5 separate regions of the Homo sapiens genome follow, and all the other regions are linked to region 1. The links are contacts of gene promoters, found by promoter capture Hi-C in blood cells and fetal thymus (Javierre and others, 2016). All regions are on one chromosome and are shown on one strand. The core of a region is centred on a gene start or on the middle of the fragment in contact, and the rest is flanking DNA. Distances in the headings are between cores, read along the strand shown. Region 1 holds the start of CFAP91 (cilia and flagella associated protein 91). Region 2 has its middle 39 kb from the start of NDUFB4. Region 3 has its middle 66 kb from the start of IGSF11-AS1. Region 4 holds the start of TEX55 (testis expressed 55). Region 5 has its middle 8.1 kb from the start of NDUFB4.

Region 1 (2,821 bases), core at 53-2,552:
GTCTCAACATTAAAGGACAAAGAAGCCAACTCTAAGGCATGCCATTAGCTTTAATAATCTGAGTGTAATAAATAATAATGATCATAACGGATTAAAACATCAGATCTGTAAAAAATGCATGCATTCATAATGATATCAAACAAACAAAAACTTTGTGGTTAACTCTGGAGTTTGGTAGGGCACCAACTCATGTCTCTGAAATTTCATAATTAAAAAGAACAAATCCAGCATTTACCCAGTCTTTCCTCTATGAGATTATCCTGGTTATCTCAGGATAACCAATGAGTTGGTATGAAAAGATTCCTTTTATAGAAGAACCTCTGGTAATAATAGAGAATTATTGAAAGGATTAGAAATTCACTGCTCTAGGATAAAAGACTTAAGAGACATACCAAAATGCAACATGAGGACTTTTTTTGGATCTTGACTGGAACAAACCAACTATAAAAGATAATTTGGACTCAAACAGGAAAATTGGAATTATTTATAGTACTAAGGAATTATTGTTAATTTTGTTAGATATGATAACGGTAGTTAAATTTTTAAAATCTATGTCAGTTTGAGATGCAGACTAATTTAAGGGTAAAATAATATTATGTCTAGGATTTCTTTAAAAAAGAGGGGAAGGAAACTGAAACTTGATTGGCAAAATGTTGCTAAATGTTGATTCTGAGGGATGGGTTACTTGAGGGTTTGTTATTAAAAGTAGAATCACTTTTGCTTATGTTTAAAATTTTCCATTATAAATAGTTTTCAAAAGCAGAGCCAGTGCCTACCCCACATCATCTTCTGTTATTTAATGCCCAGGACTCAGAAAGGGTCAGCAGTCTCAGATCAACAGTTACTGATGTCCTAACCCATCCTAAACACTGATGCTAATGAGTGTGGGGCAAAGTTCACAGCGTGCTAAGGAGCAACATTTAGGAACCTGACTGGATTCCGCAGCTCTCGGGACAAGCCCCCTGGAAAAGGGCTGGGGGGAGGGGCGGGGAGGCACCCAATTATTCTAGAAGGTTCTGAGATCTCCCAGGGATTTCCGAGAGGCTACGAGGTGTAACTGGCAAATCAATGACTTAAGAGTAGCTTTCTCCCAGCCTCCCCGCTGGCTCTGGAGTATAGAGGGAAGCCAGCCTTTTCCTCCCCCATCCTGCCCCTCCCCTCTCTTCTCATCTTCCCCTCCACTCTCCTCCTGACCCTGGCCTGGCCACTCCTGCTTTCACTTCTCTCCACTCCTCTTCGGCCCCGCCCCGCGGCCTCCTCCCTCCTCCTTGCCCCGCCCCCTATCCCTGCGCGCCGGCGGCCGTTACCATAGCGACGTGCACGCAGTAGCCAGGCCTGACCCGCTGGTCCCTTGCTGGCGGGAGGAAAGAGGCGGCACCATGAGCCACGCAGTAACCATCGAGGAGCCCCAGGCCCAGCCGCAGGTGTCTCAAACTCGGTACCGGGAGAGGTCGCGGGCTGGGAGCCACATCTCCTCCAATCGAGCGTATGATTTTCTGTACGGTAAGGACCGCCGCAGACCTTCCTCCGCGTCCGTCGCCTCCTAGGCCAGGTGGGCTCCCAGATGGTGGGACCTGGCCAGGGGCATGGCGAACGAAACACGACCCTCTGGACTGACCTCTTGCCCACGGTTGTCCTTGGTCGGGTGGGGGCAGCTCCGAGCCCTCCAGGTGGCCGCACTCAGGTTGGGGTCGGGGGTTCGGGTACATCGAAAGGCGCGGGTGCGCTCCGCTTCGGGGGGCGATTTTCCTGAAACCTGTTCCGGGCGTTTTGGTACCCAGAAAGTGTGCAACGATTTGTACACTCGGAGATTCACTCAACGTTCCTGCATAAAATGCCCTACAAAAATGATCTTTTCTCTCCAACTCTCTGGGCAAATCCAAGTTGGGCGAAAAGAAGTGCCAGTTTATCCCATGCTTGTTTTTAGGTTTTTTGTTGTTGTTGTTGTTTGTTTTTTTTAACTTCTGCGTCAAAGCATTGCTTATAGACTGGGTCCGCTGGCTCCTCTTGGGCCAATAAAACCCCAGTTTATTTTAACGGCTTGGTTGTCCATTTTATGTTTTCTCTCTCTCCACGCTCCTTGAGTTCCTTAAGTTCCTGTTCTACACATTTTTGTAGCCTTCTGAGCACCTATTCTAGTGCTGATACATATACTAGGCGCTTCAATAAATAAATGTTTATTGAATTTGCCGTGGCAAGAACTGTAACCAGCTATAAGCATGATTTTTTCCAATTTTGCCCTCTGCAATCCCAGGTTTTTCACCTGAACCTTGCATTGCTTTCAGCAATGTGGTGTTGCCTCTGGGAATCCCAGTCTCCTTTGTGTGGGAATCTAGGGTACACATTCCTAGATAGAGGCTGTGTAATGATTGCTGACATATTCTGGCCAGTGTTTTTCTGTATTTACTCTTGGTTTTGTGAAATAAATCAAGTTAGCTCCTGTAAACACATCACCATGTTTTTTTTTCACGGGTAATTTGAGAAGGAGGACAAACATCTCCCCAAAGTATTTATTAAGCTGGTTGTTTCTTTGATGCCGAAGTGTCTCTTTTGCAGAGGAATTGCTAAATGTTTCCATGTCCCTTGCTAAGAACAGAAATTCACTCAGAGTAGATCAAATAAAAGTTTGGATTGTTATAAAACAATCTCGCCGCTAGTCATGGACAGGAAGCGAAGTATAGCCAGGGCGGATGAGAACCTGGATGGGGAAAATCAGAACTAAGATGCTGTGCTCTCCTGCTTTCTTTCTTTGACCTTATGACCTTTCACCTTGTTAGGGTTGCCACATTTAGCAAATAAAAATACAAGAGGCACCGTTAAG
Region 2 (2,880 bases), core at 65-2,564, 850 kb after region 1:
GTGTGAGATGATCTCATTTTATGGGGAGTGACCCTGCTTACAACAACTTGGAATTCTTTACCTTCTCCACCACATCTGGGAAAGTAAGGACTTGGGATATAGGATAATGAAGAGAGGGCAGGGTAATAATGGGGCAAAGGACTTAAACTGGAGCCATATCTGATTATTTGGTCAATTGTCCTTGCCTCTAGATTATCACTGAGTGTTCCCTTTCTGTAGTCCCTGACTGAAGTCACAGTCATTAATGATGGTAGAAATCCAGGGAGATGAAGCAAGATTACACTGAGGCTTGGTGCCAAGTGTCTACAAGTGTCAGAGACCCCACCCAGGCCTTGGACTTGGCCTTATGGGTACATTCTCCAGGACCGCCCCCACCTCACCCTGCCAGAAAGTGCTCCTCCCCTGGAACCCGCCCCCACCCAGATGACCTTCGCAGCCTTCCTCAGGTGCTCCTGGCTGCTCTCTGCTCCTGCACCACCTCTCTCTGTCAACTTAAACCCATAGTAGCCCCTCCCACTAACTCTCCTCTACTCCCCCAGCTAAGACAGCAGGTCTGCCTTTTTAAACTCAGATCAGGCTACTGGGTGTGAGGTCCATGAGGCCATGGCCTTGTGTCTTTTGGTGCTTGTGAGCTTATCTTGGGCCTGGAAAATCATGCTGAGGAGGAAGATATTCCTGCTGCTGCCACCATGGAAAACAGTGCTGTGTTCCAGGAGCTGGGGAATAGTGTGGCAAGCAGATGACCCTTGTACAGCAGAACATTGATGACCTTCTGGAAGAGACCCAGAGATAAGGAGGGAACAGCTTGTGCGGAAAAGGGAGTCCTAGAAGCCAGTCCAAATATTGCAGATGGAATTCTTGTGAGTGAGGGCTTTCTACAAAACCGTTTGCCAAGACAGCTCACATGTTTGCAAGGCAAACATCTAGGCACAAGCTTACAAAATGAAACAGGCAGCTCAATGGCAGGCCCTGGCATGTTGTCGGTGGGAGGCGGACAAGTGAGGACCATGGGCCTTTCACCTGTCCATTTCTCTCTAGCTGCTATGGGGGGCCTCTAATGCTGTATGAGTTCTTTGACTTTCCAATCTATTTAATAGAAGAGAACCTGGGAAGTTAGCTCATCCAAGTCATGCCTCTGTCTCTACACTGGATGTTACCTGCAGCATGTGATAACAAGACAGTTCTGTTCTTTCAATAAATGCCTCTAGAGGAAAGTGCCCACCTATTCTCTGTGACCCATTCTAGGGTTTAATCGCTGTGAAATCTTGAACAATAGGCCTCACATTGACCTTAAGATGCCCCCTCGGTAGTTTACTTTTATTCCATTTCCTATTGATTACAGGTGGGGAATAGCCACTGACCAAGGTTTTCACTTGAAAGGATGCTTTTAAATACTTGACCATAACAGGCCCCCTTAACCTACACTTATTTAGACCTAATAACTTTAGAAACATTTTATACACTTATTTACTTGATAATCTTTTCCAACTATTCTATAATCTCTGCTAGTGACCACAGCTGCTCTCCCCCCGACAGAGCTCCCCTCTCCTTTCTAGGCACCCCATCTCTTCCCTACCTAAGAAATTTTTCCATCTTCAATGCACCAACATTTGAGCAGCTGTATAAGCACAAAATACTTAATTTGGGAACAGTGTCTGTGGGAAGGAATGCTTTGTTAGTTTCCAAAGTAATGCAAAGCTTAATTTTAGAAAGTAATTTAACTTTTTTTTTTTTTTTTTTTTTGGTTCTGGAAGTCACAGAGATTATGGATTGCACTGCAGAGGCAGCCTGCCTCCTGATGATGCTAGCACTTTGTAGCACTGGGTTTTTCTGCAGCAGTTTCATTTTTGTTCTCATTCAGAGACACAGTGGGTCAGTTCAATAAAAACATTTACTCCCTGAGGTCAGGGCCTATGTCTTGTACAGCCTGTCTGTATGGCCAGGGCCTGACAAGGACAAGTAAGTGGGAAGTATTCTTAAATGTTGAATAGCATTGCATTGCCTATCTGCCTCCCACTCCCTACCTTGGTCTTAAACTTGGTCCAATCAGGTTCTGGAACTAGGAAAGAACAGCTATCAAGTATTGGGCAGGACAGGGACAGGCGGGATCGGATCATACCACTGCTACATTCCATGGCTCCAGGAGAAAGTTATGGTGACAAGATTGAAGAGTATCATGTCCTACCAGATCTGATATCAGTCTCTTCCTCTCAGGGACACACAGGACTAGGAGCTGAAACATAATAGGAATTGGGATAGGAATCTGAACCAATAGAGCCAGATAGATTTGGAGACAGGGACCATGAAATGCAGAAATTAGGGGGGTACATCACCACCACCATAGTAGCAATATTTAGGGCTGGAACTGAGATAGGCTCTTGATAAGTAGCACTGCCCCAGAGCCCTCTGTGGGCTCCAGGTGAAGCACCTTCTATCATTTGCTGGGGTGCCTTTTGACTGTCATGGCATGCTCTAGTGCCTTAACACCACGATTGGTGACATTCCCAATTCCCCAGAAATAAAATTTAAACTCTATTTTCCAAGGGTACACACACACACACACACACACACACACACACACAGTCTCTCTCACTCTCTCTTCCAACTGTGTTATAAGCAAAAGTCAGTTTGAGAGGAAGACAGTGATGAAGTCCCCAAGAGAAAATCACTGTGAGTAAAGATACTGTGGCAGAGTGGACCAGACTCAACCAGAGCACCTGAATCTTGGAGGACAAGAGGTTCCAGGCAGAGCGTGAGGCTGTCTCTGTAGTTCTCACCTGAAGTCCCTCAACCCCAAATCCTAAGAGTTCCAGTATGTTCTGGAAACGAGGGGGGTGGTCTCAATTAGAAAACAAAAATCAAAACGAAACAAAAACATGT
Region 3 (2,700 bases), core at 186-2,685, 830 kb before region 1:
AACTAAAGATCTAAAGATGTGCTTTTGGCAGTAGAGTTGGAGAAAAGAATAGATTCCAGATGACTTAGATGATGCCCCTCACGGAGGCCCAGGAAATATTTGCCAAGGCGTCAGCTACATGGACAAGGTAAAAAACATCACAGTTGGCCACACAAGACATTTGGGCCTCTATATGAAATTTATGTTCGTTGTGTGCTGTTTCCAAGTAAAATTTCAAATTAACTATTTCTTTGATAAGAAATCGCCATAATTCTTAGAGTGCTGAAAGGGAGAAAATGAACCAACTATAGTCATGGACAATGAAATTAATTGCCTGAGAATTTCCTGTAAAAGAGCTCTGGATTAGGTCACAACACACTTATGTTAAATGCCGTATAAGACATTCTCCAAAAAATATCCTAAATGGGGCCTAGATCTCCTGGCACTGTCATATAAGGAGTTCTGATGGGACTAAATTGAACAAATAGAAAGTAATCGTTATCTGTTAGAAAGGTGTAGCCAGGTCTTTCTGTACCCTTTCCAAAAGAAAAACTGCATATCTTCCATGAGAGACAAAAGTATGTACCATCTGCAAATTCTTGCAAAGACCTGTATCACATAAAAATTACCCTTATTCTCTCCTTCGATATGTGGATTTCTATAAATAAATCGAGAGAAGCTAAGCCTTTGGTAAGCCAAAAAAGACAAAATAAAATTGTGACTGGATGTCACTATGAGCCCCCAGTTTCGGTCTAGAATAAATAAAAGGAATCTGTGTTTCTACGCCCCTTTTCTAGAACTGTTGCACATTTTCACCAGGCTGCCTGGTCGAGGAGAAAAGAAGTCTGGGAATGGGGATGCTATCTTTGTAAAGGCGTTGGAAAGAGGATCTCAGCACGGCAGTGAGAAACCACATTGGTTCTCTATGGGAATTAAGCAGATTAAGTGTACAAACCTATAATTCCAGGGAAGTAACAGCCTTGTTGCTGCAAAGGGTAGAAGCTTCAGAGTGGAAGTCACTATTAATTCCTATGTGGTTTGCCACAAAGGGTGTGCTGTCAGCAACAACAACCCCTAGAGCTGCTAGCTTGAATTCTCAGGCCATGCTCACATGAACTACAGAATACTACAGTGACTCTAGAGACTGGTGTCCTTACGTCTCTCATTCTATGCTATGAATAACTGATTCCTGCCTCAGCTCATGGTATTCCCAAACATAAGGACTAGACAAGGGCACAGCTGTAGCACAAGTTTTAGAGTGTAGGTCTGAGATTAGAGGGAAGTCAGGCCAGGAAAGAATCCCTCAAGTGTTGAGGGTCAACATAACAACAAGCTCAGAAGCAAATGTAACAAGCTGCCAAATCTCCAAGGTAAAAGGTGGTAGCTGAAATAGTTTAGAGAGATTCTGTAGGGAGAAAGACATATTTGAAGTGAAGTCCACAGATGAGGATTTCAGGATCTTGCAGGATACTGAAAGCAGGTTTTTTGTTTGTTCGGGTTCTATTTTTTTTTAAGCTACCATTGTATTAATGGTCTAACTGAGGATCTTTTTTTATTATTTATTTATTTATTTTCAATTTTTGTAGCTATATAGTTGGTGTATATATTTATGGGGTACATGAGAAATTTTGATACAGGTATACAATGCATAATAATCACATTAGGGTAAATGGGGTATCCATCACCTCAAGCATTTATCCTTTCTATTACAAACAACCCAATTATACTCTTTTCGTTATTTTAAATGTACAATAAATTATTATTGACTACAGTCACCTGTTATGCTATCAAATAGTAGATCTTATTCATTCTAACTATATTTTTGTACCCGTTAACTATTTCCACTCCACCTACCACACTCACTACCTTTCCCAGCCTCTGGTAACCATTATTCTACTCTGTATTATTTGTAAGCTTCATGGTAACCATAAAATTTAAAACAACAGATACACAAAAAAATAAAAAGCAAGAAATTAAAGCATACTACCAGAGAAAAACCACCTACACTAAAAGGAAGACAGGAAGGAAGGAAGGAAAGAAAGAAGACCACAAAACAACCAGAAAATAACAAAATGGCAGGAGTTAAGTCCTCACTTATTAGTAGTAACAGTGAATGTAAGTGGAGTACACTCTCCAATCAAAAGACAGAGTGGTTGAATGGATTAAAAAGCAAGACCCATTGATCTGTTGCCTATAAGAAATACGCTTCATCTATAAAAACACACACAGACTGAAAATAAAGGGATGGAAAAAGATATTCCATGCAAATAGAAACAAAAAAAGAGCTGGAATAGCTATACTTATATCAGACAAGATATATTTCAAGACAAAACTTTAAAAAGAGACAAAGAAGGTCACTATATAATGATAAAGCAGTAAATTCAACAAAAGGATATAACAATTATAAATATACATGCACCCAACACTGGAGCACCCAGATATATAAAGCAAATATTAGAGCTAAAAATAGAGACAGGCCCTAATTCAGTAATAGCTGGAGACTTCAACACCACACACTCAGCCTGGACAGATATCTAGACAGAGAAATGACAAAGACATACTTCATGATATCCTTACTTCTATTTTTACCTGCGAACCTTTTTGAGACTCATTTTATAAATAGGGTACAGTTGAAACTGGATTGTTCCATCGTGCCCATATTTACGAGGTAGAGGCATGTAATCTTGGTGTTTGACTTTTCTATTGATAAAGAACAACAGG
Region 4 (2,878 bases), core at 154-2,653, 560 kb before region 1:
TTTGCATGGGGGTATTTCCAGAAGGATAAACATCAAAATGTCAATACAGGTTATCTCTTGAGTGTTTGGGAATTTTTTTCTTTACGCTTTCTTTTTTATATTTCTATGATTATTACATTTAAGTTATAAAATGGAAAAATAAATCTCCAAAACCAATAGCACTTTGAAGCTACAAGCCATAGCCCAAGACCTATTTTACTCTAAACACAGTATCCAATGGTGTCATGCATTTTTAAATAAATAAGGTAGATAATTCATAAAGTGACATTCAACAAGCACTTCTTGAGCACCTATTATGTTCTAGGCACTGTTACATAAATGACTTTACTTCAGTGTGCTTAGATTCCCCTTTCCATTCCTAAGTATGGTGTCAAGTGTATCCACTCTCCTTTGTCACAAGTATTTGAATTTGGATTTTAAGTCTCATTTCTAATTGTTTAATGCAGTTAAATCCCTACTAAAGGAATATCTGGCATCACACTACCAACCCTTGGCCTGCCTCAGTGATTTCAGGCTTTGCAAGGTCAAAGTAATTTGTCTCATCAATCACCACCTCTGTACTGGCCTACTCCTGAAAGTAGACAGCCTACTGACTCTGAGGTGCATTCTTAAGGTTGATTGCAAAGTGGGAGGACCAAATCTCAAAAACTGGGCCCCACTGGCCAACACTATCAAATACAAATTCTCCACTTGCTAAATATTCCTTCTGGTATCTTTCTCCCACTTTCCTTACTCCCTTCCTTTCTGGAACTCTGATTTGGCCTCCTTCTAACTCGCCTCTCTGCTGTAAGACCACTAGATGGTGCAGTTTTAGAACCCATTCTCACTGGATCTTCTCTCCTCTCTCTGGCTCTCCCGCCACAGATCACATGTCTAATCCAGCAAGAAAACACCTTGGGGCAGGAGTTTCCACTGCCAAGACAGCTATACCCAAAGGGGATGGCAATAGCAACAACCTCTGTTCAGTTTTGTGGTCCTCGTGCAGCTGGTTGTGTGTTCATCTGTTGACATTTGGAGGTGCGGTGGGGGATGTTAATCAGAGGAGCAGTACCTGAGAGAGGGCCTCTTTCTCACACACTGCGGAGAACCTCTGTGAACAAGGAAGAGGGTAACACTCTAGGTGGCGATGCACGGAGCCCCGTGGCCTGGTTGCTCGGCAGGGTGAGGAGAAGCTGTAACTGCCAGAGCCTGAGAATCGCCCCTTCTCAGGACATGGCGTACTCCCTGCGCTCGCCTGCACACTGCAGGGTCAGCTGACTGCCGTCCCTCCACTTACAACAGCGGGACGGCCACTCTCCCTGACGCACGCAGTGACCCGAACAAAGCCCGTGGGAATCATGGGGCGTTCCTGGAGGGTCGCCTAGACGACCCAGCCCAACCCCACCCACAGTGCCTGGCAACCTAGACCAGTCAGGGACGCGGCAGGAAATGGAAGAGCCTCCGCAAGAGGCTCTGGCTGAACCCTTGAAACATGAAAGCCCAGCCGCTCCCTCAAGTGCTGGCCACACTAAGGGCCAGGAAGAAGACGACCAGAAGAACCAGGCCGAAAGGAAGGCAGATAACCACACTGCTCACAGAATAGCTGACCAGACTGCCCTAAGAGTGCCTAGCCAGGCTGAATCCAGCATATTTAGCCAAGCTACCAACGGAGTAGCTGAACAAAATGGGCATAGTACACCTGGTCAGGCTGGCCGCAGAGCATCCAACCCTGCTGATGTTTCTGACCTTAGAGCAGATGATCAGGTTAATCAAACACCGTCTGAACAGACTAAAGGCAAGGCATCTAGCCAAGCTAATAATGTACAGCATGAACAGAGTGATGGTCAGGTGTCTGGCCTGACGGAGGAAAGAACTGCTGAACAGACTGAACGAAGATTACCTACCCAGGCTGAGAGAAGAACTTCTGGGCAGATTGATGGTAGACTGGCTATGCCATCTGACCAGAGAGGTTCCAGACAGACCGACCACAGAATGGCAGGCCAGTCTGAGAGAAGAGCTTCCGAGCAGATGGACCGCAGAATGTCTGGCGAGGCTGAGCGAAGAACTTCTGAGCAGATTACACACAGATTATCCAAACTATCTGAGAGAAGACCTTCTGTGCAGATTGACAGTGGGTCATCCGTCCCATCTGACCAAAGTCCTTCTGTACAGATTGACAGTGGATCGTCCGTACCATCTGACCAAAGACCTTCCGTACAGATTGACCGCAGAATGTCAGGGAAAGTTAGGAGAAGAAGTTCTGAGAAGACTGACTACAGATTGGCTGGCCTGGCTGACCCAGGAACTTCTGAGCAGACTGACCTCAGATTGTATGGCCTCGTTGACCACAAAACATCTGTAAAGACTCACCACCAAGTGTACGGCCAAGCCACTGAACTAGCTGAACACCAGGCTATTGACCAAGCTCATAGTAATGCTGATCAACCTCCAGTTGACAATGCTCACTACACTGAATCTGACCAGACTGACCACTTAGCAGACAGACAAGCTAATCATAAAGACCAGCTGTCTTACTATGAAACACGTGGCCAGTCTGAAGACAGAATATTTCCCCAGTTAGGCAACAGCAAAGAGGACAAAGAGGCTGACTACAGAGTACAACCCTGCAAATTTGAGGATAGCCAAGTAGACCTCAATTCCAAGCCTTCAGTTGAAATGGAAACTCAGAATGCAACCACTATCCCACCCTACAACCCAGTTGATGCCAGATTCACCAGTAACTTCCAAGCAAAAGACCAAGCTCTTTTCCCAAGACTCCCCTCCATCTCATCCAAATTGAACTATACCAGCAGTCAAGAAAAAACTCAAGCCATAGTAACCAAATCTGTAAGTTAAATGGGCATTTGATACCTACCTGGGAGATCAGAGATCTAGACGG
Region 5 (2,845 bases), core at 316-2,815, 900 kb after region 1:
AGGGGCGTGACCTTTGGAGGTCAAATCTGGGCTAGAATCCTAGCTCAAGTTAAACAGTTGGAATACTGGGCCTCCATATGCTCATCTATAGCATGGAGATAGCCTACTACCTCACAAGGTCATGAAGATGACAATGAAATAACAGTATTATGCTTTGTAGTTAAGTCTGGAAACAGTAGGGTGATAATTTCACCACAAAGGCAGAGTAAAGTCAAGTGCTGTAGATAACCAGCATGCTCTGTAAGGCTGGTGTAGATGGTATATTGGTCTTAACTTTCAAAGGATATCCACGACTACTTTGATTTGAAGCTTGCATAAGCATGGGTTGCCCCAGAAAGCAGAGACTGAGGGAAAGTCTTCTGTGCAGGTAGTTTATATTAGGAAGTGATCTGAAGGAATAGAAGTTTGGGAAGAGTGAAACATGGAAGGAGGGAAAGCCAGCAAACATGTGCCATGAACCTGTTGCCTCTGAGAGTAACAGGCTCCCACCTGGGACCTTCTGAGAAGCCCTGTGGAATGTAGAATTTTTCAACCAGATGTGGGAAAAGCAAATGTTTGTCTTGTCTCCATTGGTCAAGGGTTATCCCATGCAATTCTCGTGTACATCAGGGTATGGACATACTCTGGAAAGGCTGACGATGTTTTTACAGGCATTACACATGCGGGAGAAAGGAAGCTTAGGGCAGAAAGCAAGTGATGTGCAGCTGAGGTAAAGTATTGTCAGGTCACACTTGCAGGCAGCTGACAGTGGCAGCAATAGTTAGAGTAAAAAGGTGGACCAAGAGGTTGTGAGGCAGGCAAAAGAGATATAGGATTTCTTCCTCCACTTCATGCGCTGCTTGGATCTATTTGGACATACACTGAGTCCAGTCTATAACATGTCCTTCAAGGTGATGGCTGTATACAATCTACAGAACACTCAGTATGGACAATTAGTGGAACCAGCTACAGTACATACTGTTGCAACTGGCCCAGAGTCTGTAACTCATTCATCTCCCCTCATCGTATTTACTAGATTTCCCTTCCTTGGCCATCATTTTAGCAGGTCTAGATTGCTAGCCAGATGAAGTCACCAAAGCCTTCATTTCTAAGGACCAGAATCTTAGTTACTCTATCATCATCAGCCCTTTGTTGTAGCAATTGCATGTTTACAGCTGGGCTGGAAGTGGAAGCACCGAGATGCTCCAGTGAATCCCCTGGACTCCAGACATTACCCTTTTTGCCCCATTGTGTAGCAGCAACCCTAGCTCCGTGGGTCACTTACTGCTGCCAGTATGGAAATTTCTTTTTCGGTCTACTGTTTCCCAAATACAAGAAGTACCAGATTATTTTGTTTCCCTGGTGAAAGTGTTCTTATGCCCCAGCATGGGAATCAGGACTTCTTCCAGCAGAACCTAAATTTGGAGGGAGGGGAAGTGCACATTCCACCATGAGTTACTGGGATGGCAAAAGGGGCCAATCCTACTTCTTGGTTCTCAGAGTCATAAATTCTAGCTGCTGGGGCATAGCACTGTATCTATGACCATTGGTTCATTGCATATACCACATGGTCAACCCTGAGCCTCAGTCCTGCTAGATGTCCTTAAGCTGGTACTTTAGCTAAGCCTTTAGTAGGCTTAGCTAAATTCATCTGTGCCCTAGAGCTGCTGTGTACATCCAATCACATGACAGTGCTTCTGACTGTCCAGATCTTGATAGGCAGTTCTGGTTGAATGGTCACCTCATCTCATACTGGGTGCCCAGCTGCTTTTGGAATGGTGAATTTTTCTTTGCTGCAGAAGGCATGGCCTTGCTCCACAACCTAAGAAGTCAGCACTGCAACTATTCTGTTGCCAAGGTCTTGTAGGAGACTCCAAGCAGCATCCTTAGCTACCTACCACAGACACCTAGAGTATTGGCTTTATTGTGTTATATGACCCAAGTGGCTGCTGCTTACACTGCAGCCTGGATCTGCTGCAGAGTCCTTTCTGGGCTCCATTCAAAACTGGCAGCTTATAGCCAGGCATGCCTGGTATGTGCCTAACTAATTGGAAGGCTGAGATGGGAGGATTTCTTGAGCCCAAGAGTTCAAAGTTGCAGGGAGCTATGATCATGCCACCCACTGCACTTCAGCCTGGGTGACAAACTGTGACCCTCTCTCTGGAAGAACAAAACTGGCAGCTTTACAAATCACTGCATAAATGGGTCAGAGTACTGTTCCCAAGTAGGGTATGTGTTGTCTCCAGAATCCAGAGGCCCACAAAGTGCTGTGCCTTTTTCTTTGTAGTAGAGGGTGTGAAGTGGTTCAACTTGTGCTTTACTTTGGAGGGGCTATCCTGGCATGCCAAAGACCACTGGATACCCACAAACATCACTGATATGGGAAGCTCCTAAACCTTTATAGAGATTATCTCCCACTTTCTGGATCTTATACTAGTGCATTAAGGTAATGAGGAATCTAATCTATGAGTAAACAGAAGCTTTAAGGCAGAAATACTAGAAGGTGTGAGAAACAGCAATTCAAAGGGGCCAAGGTGGTAGACACGTGGGAGTAGCTGTGTGTAATGGTGGAGTAAAGATCCATGAATTCCTGCAAAATGGATCTTAAAACTATTTTGGATCTACAGCTACCATCCTGTGCCCATGAGACTTGACCAAATCATATGATTTCCATGTGGTTCCTGTTTGCTAATTTGCCCCTGCCCATATCATTACAATAACGGTAAGACCCTGCTTCTTCCACCCATCCTAATGGCCATTATTGTTATATTGTTCTCCAGATCTTAAAGAATTGTATTACTTGATTCTCATTTTGCTAGAGGGCAAAAACAGAAGGAATCCTACTGTGACCTTCCGTCTTTTTTTC

The links. Contacts are between HindIII fragments. The CHiCAGO score rates a contact against its expected background, and 5 or more counts as called.
Region 2: a fragment that was not itself captured here is called in contact with the fragment with the promoter of CFAP91 in region 1 in 1 of 17 cell types (monocytes); the score reaches 5.2 in monocytes.
Region 3: a fragment that was not itself captured here is called in contact with the fragment with the promoter of CFAP91 in region 1 in 1 of 17 cell types (total B cells); the score reaches 5.4 in total B cells.
Region 4: a contact is called between the fragment with the promoter of TEX55 here and the fragment with the promoter of CFAP91 in region 1, in 9 of 17 cell types (fetal thymus, total CD4 T cells, naive B cells and 6 more). The highest score is 8.2, in fetal thymus.
Region 5: a contact is called between a fragment that was not itself captured here and the fragment with the promoter of CFAP91 in region 1, in 1 of 17 cell types (neutrophils). The highest score is 5.9, in neutrophils.

The regions. Positions count from the first base shown.
Region 1 is chr3:119,701,720-119,704,540 of GRCh38, forward strand. CFAP91 (cilia and flagella associated protein 91) reads left to right here and starts at 1,303. Exons shown (of 18, transcript NM_033364.4): 1 at 1,303-1,503. The coding sequence starts at 1,380. LOC105374064 (a long non-coding RNA gene) reads right to left here and starts at 1,324. Exons shown (of 3, transcript XR_924391.4): 1 at 777-1,324. RefSeq lists enhancers at 1-122, 789-1,468, 1,462-1,511, 1,562-1,621 and a silencer at 1,182-1,351. The HindIII fragment of the contact is 3,012 bases long and covers 1-2,819 here.
Region 2 is chr3:120,555,474-120,558,353 of GRCh38, forward strand. No RefSeq gene overlaps it. Among named protein-coding and RNA genes, the nearest start is that of NDUFB4, 39 kb to the right of the region's middle. The HindIII fragment of the contact is 764 bases long and covers 933-1,696 here.
Region 3 is chr3:118,875,495-118,878,194 of GRCh38, forward strand. No RefSeq gene overlaps it. Among named protein-coding and RNA genes, the nearest start is that of IGSF11-AS1, 66 kb to the right of the region's middle. The HindIII fragment of the contact is 912 bases long and covers 980-1,891 here.
Region 4 is chr3:119,144,762-119,147,639 of GRCh38, forward strand. It overlaps TEX55 (testis expressed 55), which reads left to right and starts at 1,404. Exons shown (of 3, transcript NM_152539.3): 1 at 1,404-2,826. The coding sequence starts at 1,429. It also overlaps a transcript of IGSF11 not described here. RefSeq lists a silencer at 661-955. The HindIII fragment of the contact is 11,642 bases long and covers 1-2,878 here.
Region 5 is chr3:120,602,976-120,605,820 of GRCh38, forward strand. No RefSeq gene overlaps it. Among named protein-coding and RNA genes, the nearest start is that of NDUFB4, 8.1 kb to the left of the region's middle. The HindIII fragment of the contact is 1,783 bases long and covers 675-2,457 here.